Regions from separate parts of the Homo sapiens genome. Here region 2 is linked to region 1. The links are contacts of gene promoters, found by promoter capture Hi-C in blood cells and fetal thymus (Javierre and others, 2016). All regions are on one chromosome and are shown on one strand. The core of a region is centred on a gene start or on the middle of the fragment in contact, and the rest is flanking DNA. Distances in the headings are between cores, read along the strand shown.

The links. Contacts are between HindIII fragments. The CHiCAGO score rates a contact against its expected background, and 5 or more counts as called.
Region 2: a fragment that was not itself captured here is called in contact with the fragment with the promoter of INTS6L in region 1 in 1 of 17 cell types (M0 macrophages); the score reaches 8.0 in M0 macrophages.

What each region holds. Positions count from the first base shown.
Region 1 is chrX:135,518,543-135,522,546 of GRCh38, reverse strand. It overlaps INTS6L (integrator complex subunit 6 like), which reads right to left and starts at 1,887. Exons shown (of 18, transcript NM_001351601.3): 1 at 1,444-1,887; 2 at 1,229-1,306. The coding sequence starts at 1,554. INTS6L-AS1 (INTS6L antisense RNA 1) reads left to right here and starts at 1,873. Exons shown (of 2, transcript NR_046740.1): 1 at 1,873-1,980; 2 at 2,175-2,464. RefSeq lists silencers at 784-983, 1,044-1,313 and enhancers at 1,564-1,623, 1,654-1,733. The HindIII fragment of the contact is 2,771 bases long and covers 1-2,447 here.
Region 2 is chrX:123,964,185-123,968,188 of GRCh38, reverse strand. All of the region lies in intron 1 of STAG2 (STAG2 cohesin complex component), which reads right to left. Among named protein-coding and RNA genes, the nearest start is that of STAG2, 4.5 kb to the right of the region's middle. The HindIII fragment of the contact is 7,160 bases long and covers 1-4,004 here.

The sequences.
Region 1 (4,004 bases), core at 638-3,137:
AAGGATTGTGGTAGTATTTTTAAAATTTCAATATGCAAGCAGGACTCTTATGCAGGTTGATTTAACAGTTTAAATTCCATTTTATCTGGCCACTGCAGGCAAAGCAGCAGTTCTTTATCTCCTCACCATAGGAACATAAATTACCCCACAGAGACCGTCCTCCCTACTTTTCTCCTGTAGGTCAGAATCAAATCATCGAACTTGACTATTACAAATGCTCACATTTGAGTCCTCCCCTTCCTTTCTTTCTTGTCCCTGGATTAATTCCTACGTGGCTAGCACAAACCTAATTTATGATGTAAATAGGTAGAGCGGATCCCTAAAAAGCTCTGCCCCTGTGGGTTCGCACTTGGCACGTCCCCCTCCGTGTCGTTGCTTCGCTGGAATTTCCAATGAAACAGTAACAGTAGCTAAGGTAACTGAGAGCGGGGCTGAACCTGGCCAATTCCGGAGCAGAAACGCAAAGACTTTCTCCGGGTCTGGGGGTGGGGAGACTGGCGTCGCGGACAGATTTCCGATTGCGCGGGGGTGGTGAGAGGCCAACGAGTGCAAAGGCGGTTGTCTAGTCTTTGAAGGCCGGCGGCTGGCTCTGCCACGCTCTCAGCAGGAAGGGGAGGGGACCAGGAGGAAGAGGGGGAGAAGGAGGAGATGCAGCGAAGAGCCCAAGGAGGGGGAGGAAGACCGGGGGAGGAAGGAGGGGCCAGAGGAGGAGCCCAGGCTCCGGGAAAGCCCGCGCGCCCGGCCGGCAGGACCTCGGGGCGGAGTCGCAGGCTCCGTCCGGCCCCCCGCGCGGCGACCCTCGCGCGGTGCGCCTCGAAGGGGCGGGCCCGCCTCGCAGCCTCCCTCCGGGTTTCGGGCCCTCCTTCCCCGCTCCTCCCTCCCCTCCCTCCTTTCCATCTCAGCAGCGCCCTCAGTCTCCCTCTCGCAGGCTCATACAAAAGCAAAATGTCCGCCATGTTCCGAGGCGGCTGCGGTTGTCGCGCCACGAGCTCGGCCCTCCTGCGGTTTCTCCCCGGGGCTGCTCCTCCCCGGTCCCCTCTCCCCGACCCCAGGCGCGACAGCTACTCCGAAGCCGCCGACGGCACCACTCCGCCCGCCCTCTGCGCACCCCCTCGCCGCCCGCCCCGCCGGGCGACGCAGGACCGCCTTAGGCGGGGGCAGGGGGGTAAGCAGCCCCCGCCGACTTGCTCCCGCTTCCCGCCTGTCCCCCCACCCGTAGCCCCTTTACCTTGATGCAGTACGGGGGTTCGTCGTAGGTGACCAGCATGTACCTGTCTCCACGGCTGGCCGGGTCCCGGGCGCGCAGCTGCGGGGCAAGGGATGACGGAGGGGGTCGCGTAGGAAAGGAGGGGGGAGGGCGATACAAACGTTACAGAAGCACCTCAATCCACACCCTGAAATCCCTCGGGAGCTCTCCCCATCTCTCCCCTCCCCTCCCTTTACCTTCAAGAATAACTCCACAGCGCCTTTGGCAATGTCCAAATAAGAGGTGCCCAGGTCAGTGCGCTGGTTCATAGAGGCGGACGTGTCTATGAGGAACAGCAGGATGGGCATCTTCCCCCGCACTCCTGCCTCCGCTCCCCACTCTCCCGGCCCTCTTGCCCTCACTGCCGCGTACGGCCACCTGAACCCTCAACTCTCGCAGAGCCGGGGAGCAAGGAGCAAGAGGAAGAGGGGGAGACGGGACGGGACGGGACGGATGGGACCGCTCCTGGCCTCCTCTTTCTGCAGCCCCACCTCCTCTCCCTCCAAGGGAACTTGAAAGTGTGAGCGTGTGTAGCCCTCGGGGCCCTCCCCCTTCCTCTCTTCTGCTGCCACCACTACTGCCGCTGCCAGGACTACTGCCTAAGCATCCGTCCGCGCTCACTAGAGCGCTCGCCCCAGACTGAGCGCCGTCTCTGTTCACTGACAACTTCTGTCTGCTCACCTACCATCGGCACCATGTGACCAGAACCCATGCCATTGGCTGCCAATTATGTGGTATTTGCATATTCATTAGATGACAGGACTAGGGGAGGGACTTGGGCGAACCCTGGGAGTTGAAGTTTGAACCCAGGCAGAGGGTAAGGGGAAGTGTTACGGACCCTCGCTAGGATTCTCCTTTAAAGGACTTGGAAGCAGTTCGAATGATTAGTTCGGGTGGTTTAAATGGATTTTTCTGTCTCTCTTCAAAGATGGTGATTCGAAAAGAAGAGTGAATTTGAGCAACAGTTGTACAGAAGTACAGAAGCAGATGCTTGGACAGTTTGCACAGAAAATTCTTCGCTAACTGCAATCGATCAATCCTGCCAGTGGCGAAGACGAAAATATTTCAGAAGCAGCAAACTTCTTTCCTGGCAGGACGTACTCACATTCCTTTAGATCCCTCCCCCGTCTTGATCAGTATTTGTGAGTTGGTTGCTGGCCTTGCATTCCACATATATCTACTTAGAAAGGAAACTAAAGCTTAAACACAGTTACAGTTACCTAAACTGGCCTTTTGTATGCACAAGCTTCTTCAGTTTCACTAAGCTCTTTGAAACATTGGCCTGCCTGTGATAATTCCACCACTGTTCCCTCTGCGCAGCCTTTACACATGGAGGTTTGCAAACCTAGATTGTGATTCAACTCACATATTTATTTATTTATTTATTTTTATAAATAAATAAAGAGGATCTCGCTTGATCGCCCAGGCTGGAGTGCAGTGGCCCCATCATAGCTGCCTGCAGCGTCCAGCTCCTGGGCTTAAGCGATCCTCCCATCTCAGCCTCTCAAGTAGCTGGGACCACAGGGGCAGGCTCTCAACTCACATTTATTGAGTGCCTATGAAGAGCCAGGCACCCACGGTAGCCTTGTTTAATCTTTGAATTAATTATGGCAGATGGCATTGTATTCAATTTTCAGTAGAGGAAAATGCAGCTCCCTGAGGTTAGGGTAACAATTACGGATACTCTCAGGTCTGGCTCTGTGAAGAGACTCAGTAAGTGGCCAACCACACTTGATTGACTACTTCATATGACACAATTTTAAAAATTGGACTTGTGTATTCCTGGCAATTACTATTGACAATGTGGAATCCAGGACTTCAATGAGTTTGCAGTTTCATTGAGGAGAGATGATGACATATACATACATAATATTTTATATATTTTGGCCAGGCGCAGTGGCTCATGCCTGTAATTCCAGCACTTTGGGAGGCCGAGGTGGGTGGATCATTTGAGGGCAGGAGTTTGAGACCAGCCTGGCCAACATGGTGAAACCCCCGTCTCTACTAAAAATACAAAAATTAGCCGGGCATGGGAGCAGGCGCCTGTAGTCCCAGCTACTTGGGAGGCTGAGGCAGGAGAATCACTTCAACCCAGGAGACGGAGGTTGCAGTGAACTGAGATCACACCACTGCACTCCAGCCTGGGCAACAGAATGAGATAACATCTCAAAAAAGTATTTTATATATTTTATATACACTCTCTCTCTCTCTCTCTCTCTCTATATATATATGTATGTTCTGTGTATATGTTTCATATATTATATATGCACATTCAATAACATTCTCAGAGAAATACGATTTTAAAAGAAGTCATATGGCAGTATATGAATCAGGGACAAACAAGGATGCAAGTTAAAAAGTGCTATGGAAACAATGGTCCAGTCTAGAAATTCATAGGATTTCACGAACAAGGCACAAAAAGGGAAGAGAGGGAATCTGGGTTGGAAGGAATGATATGAACAAAAACTCAGCCAAAGATAGTACTATGTATGGTGCATTTCAGGCCATTCTGGTGGAAAGTAGGGAATTAATGAAGAAATAAGGATGAAAAAGATACTAGAAGCCCCCATTTCCATTCCGATACAAATGTCAGTGTAGAAGGGCAATGCCTACATGGGCTAGGGTACAAAAAATATAGGACTGTTGGGGGCAGTGTGTTAGTTTTCTACTGCTGTTTAACAAATTATTACAAATTTAGTGGCTTAAAACAACACAAGCATTTACTATCTCACAGTTTCCATGAGTCAGAGGTCTAAGT
Region 2 (4,004 bases), core at 386-2,885, about 12 Mb after region 1:
AGTGGCTCATGCCTGTAATCCCAGCACTTGGGGAGGCTGAGGCAGGCGGATCACGAGGTCAGGCGTTTGAGACCAGCCTGACCAATATGGTGAAAGCCCGTCTCTACCAAAAATACAAAGATTAGCCGGGTATGGTGGCATGCATCTGTAATCCCAGCTACTTGAGAGGCTAAGGCAGGAGAATCGCTTGAACTCAGGAGGCAGAGGTTGCAGTGAGCCAAGATCTCGCCACTGCACCCCAGCCTGAGCGACAGAGGGAGACTCCATCTAAAAAAAAAAAAAAGACAGTGGTCCCATAAGATTATAAGGGAGCTGCCCTATAGAGGTGTACTATTTTTTCTTTTATACCGTATTTTTATTGTATCTTTTTTGTTTTCAAACACAAATACTTACCACTGTATTATAACTGCCTACGATATTCAGTACAGCAACATGCTGTACAGGATTGTAGCCTAGGAGCAACAGGTCATACCATATGGCATAGATGTATAGTAGGCTATTCCATCTAGGTGTGTGTAGGTACACTGTATGATGCTCACACAACAAAATCACCTAAAGATGCATTTCTCAGAAGGTATGCCCGCCGTTAAGCAATGCATGACTGTAATAAAAAAGAATAGGCCAGCTGGGCGCAGTGGCTCACGCCTGTAATCCCAGAACTTTGGAAGGCCGAGGCAGGCAGATCACCTGAGGTCGGGAGTTCGAGACCAGCCTGACCAACATGGAAAAAACCCCGTCTCTACTAAAAGTACAAAATTAGCCCGGTGTGGTGGCACATGCCTGTAATCCCAGCTACTCGGGAGGCCGAGGCAGGAGAATCGCTTGAACCCAGTAGGTGGAGGTTGCAGTGAGCCAAGATCGCACCATTGCACTCTAGCCTGGGCAACAAGAGCAAAACTCCGTCTCAAAAAAAAAAAAAAAAAAAAAAAAAATACACCATTGACATTATTCATCCTCTCTTTCTTCGGCAGAAGGAATGGAAAACAATTTCAATAATCTCTTCTTGGCCAGGCACGGTGGCTCCGCCTGTAATCCCAGCACTTTGGGAGGCTGTGGTGGGTGGATCACCTGAGGTCAGGAGTTTGAGACCACCCTGACCAACATGGTGAAACTCTGTCTCTACTAAAAACACAAAAAATTAGCTGGGCGTGGTAGCGGACACCTGTAATCCCAGCTACTGGGAGGTTGAGGCAGGAGAATCACTTGAACCCGGGAGGCAAAGGTTGCAGGGAGCCCAAGATCATGCCACTGCACTCCAGCCTGGGCAACAAGAGCAAAACTCCGTCTCAAAAAATAAATAAATCTCTTCTTGACTTACTACAATAACCATATGTAAAGACTTCTTGGTGTCTACTGGTGAGTATCAAAGATCTATAGCAAGCACACATTAAAAACACAATTCAGGTAGCAGATTACCACAGCTGCTGAAGATGCATAGATTTTTAAAAGGCACATCAACAAAAATTAGACTCCACTAAGCAACACCACTTACACTGAAGAAATATAAAATTTGGGTAAATTAAACGTAAAGCAGTCAACTCAAGAGACTGAAAAATCAAACTGATAATTTTGCTTTATCATATATCTTTGCCAATCAGAACACGCAATAACCATCATTTATGATACCCAGAAACATAAAGAATTATTACACAGGGACAGTACTGAAACACGAACTAAAGTCCTGAACATGTAGCCAATGCAGAAAAATGTTAAGAACTTTTTTTTTTTTTAAACGGAGTCTCGCTGTCGCCCAGGCTACAGTGCAGTGGCGCGATCTCAGCTCACTGCAACCTCTGCCTCCCAGGTTCAAGCGATTCTCCTGCCTCAGCCTCCCAAGCAGCTGGGACTACAGACGCGCACCACCACGTCCAGCTAATTTTAGTATTTTTAGTAGAGATGGGGGTTTCACCATGTTGGCCAGGCTGGTCTTGAACTCCTGACCTCATGATCCGCCTGCCTCAGCCTTCCAAAGTGCTAGGATTACAGGCGTGAGCCATGGTGCCCAGCCAAAAACTTTTAAAATAGCCTATGTCTTTAAAGTTCCTTCCTTACTCTCCAACAATCACACTTCAGTATATACTGATGCCCATACCTGAAACTATCCCTCTCCCTCGCTATTCTCCCCAACTCCCAAAACGGTACTCCATTATATAGTAAACTGTACATTTTAGTTTATTTTTAATTTTTTTTTGAGACAGGGTCTTGCTCTGTTGCCCAGGCTGGGTGCAGTGGCGCAATCGTGGCTTACTGCAGCCTCTATGTACCGGGCTCAGGTGATCCTCCTGCCTCAGCCTCCCAAATAGCTGGGACCACAGGTGTGCACCACCACACCTAATTTTTAAATTATCTATAAACATGGGGTCTCCCTATGTTGCCCAGGCTGGTCTTGAACTCCTTGGGCTCAAGTGATCCCCCCACTTCAGCCTCTCAGCCTCCCAAAGTGTTGGTATTACAGGTGTGAGCCACTGTGCCCCGCCGATTTTGGTTTAAGTTCAAAAGTCAACTTGCAGCATCAAAAACTGAAGTCTGCCATCTATTATAAAGAACCCGAAGCAGAAAGATTATGCTATTCTCTGTTTACTACCTTCCCACATATGACTGTGGGTGGTATCAGTTAAACATGCACAATATTAAGCATTACTAAACTGCATATTTTCACATCTAACCCTAAATTCCCAAAGGAATAGATCTGAGCCTTAGCCTGTCCCCCAAGCCCATCCCATTCACTTTAATTCATAAGTCCTCAGGTGACCGCAGAAGTCAATACAGTTGAAAAAGAAATGTAGAATTTGATTTCATGAAAATCTTATTTGAGCATTTGGGCTTTAAAAAATCCTAACTAAATATACTTGAAAGTTACCAAACTCATCATGTGTTAGTGTAGTAGTTTAGCTATTGCCTCACCACAATAAAATAAATCTGATGCCACAATCCTTACCATCTACTAAGAATATTTGTATATGAATAAAAATTTGAAATATGTCACCTATTTTCCTTTAACATCCTTCTAAAGCTAAAATCCTGAATATGAAATACACAAACAGACTAATGGTAACAGTTACAAAATGTCTGTTCCCAGATTGGGGTGAAATTTTGCTATAAATTAAATATCCATTGTTTTGGATTCCTTTCGGAACTGTGACATGTATTTTTAAAATGTATCTCCTGGGGGAAAAAAATAAACCTGACACTGAACAGTATAGAACTGCCAAAAAAAAAAAAAAAAAAGGCACTTACCTTAATAGAATTTAGGAGCAGTTCACAAATGCACTAATTAAGGGAGACCAAGGATTGTCATTGCAACACATTTTTACTGTTTACGGGTAATGGTCAGAATGTTAACAGACAATATTGAAATATTTTACATATCAACTTCTAACTAGTTATAGCACCAGATCCTTGGGGCATGAGGTGATTTAAACCATTTTAAATGTAAACACTCATTTTCTTATCAGTTAAAAAAAAAAAAACCCACTCCACCCTCTCTGCCAGTCTCTGATACACCTTAGAATACTATAGTTACTTCACAGTGGGAAGGAATAGCTAATAAGTACATTTCTTTTCCAACCCACTTCTCTACCTAGTCATTAAACACCAAATTCTGAAACTGAATTCAGCTACCTAGATCTTTCTACCAGGAATGCTCCCTATGGTACCTCAATCCCTTCCACTGTCACTTACTGCAACTGCCAAAGCCCCTCCTATTAATAGTAAATCCCTTTCATACTGACTCACTGTAACTCCAACTTGATGAAATAGACACTAAGCAGAATTTACAAAAATTGCAAATGGAATTTTCCTGTTTTCAAAGAATTAAAAAGGAAACTAAAAGTAGAGCACATTCAGGCTAAGTTATAAACATTTAAAGTTCAACCAATTTATAAGTATTTATGTTGCCTGTTTTATACTAGTTCCCGTTTAAACGTTTTTTTTTTTTTGAAAGTTTTGCCAAGCATTGTGTAATCACTTACACAAGGCTAAATTTCCTATGCAAGTAATTTTGA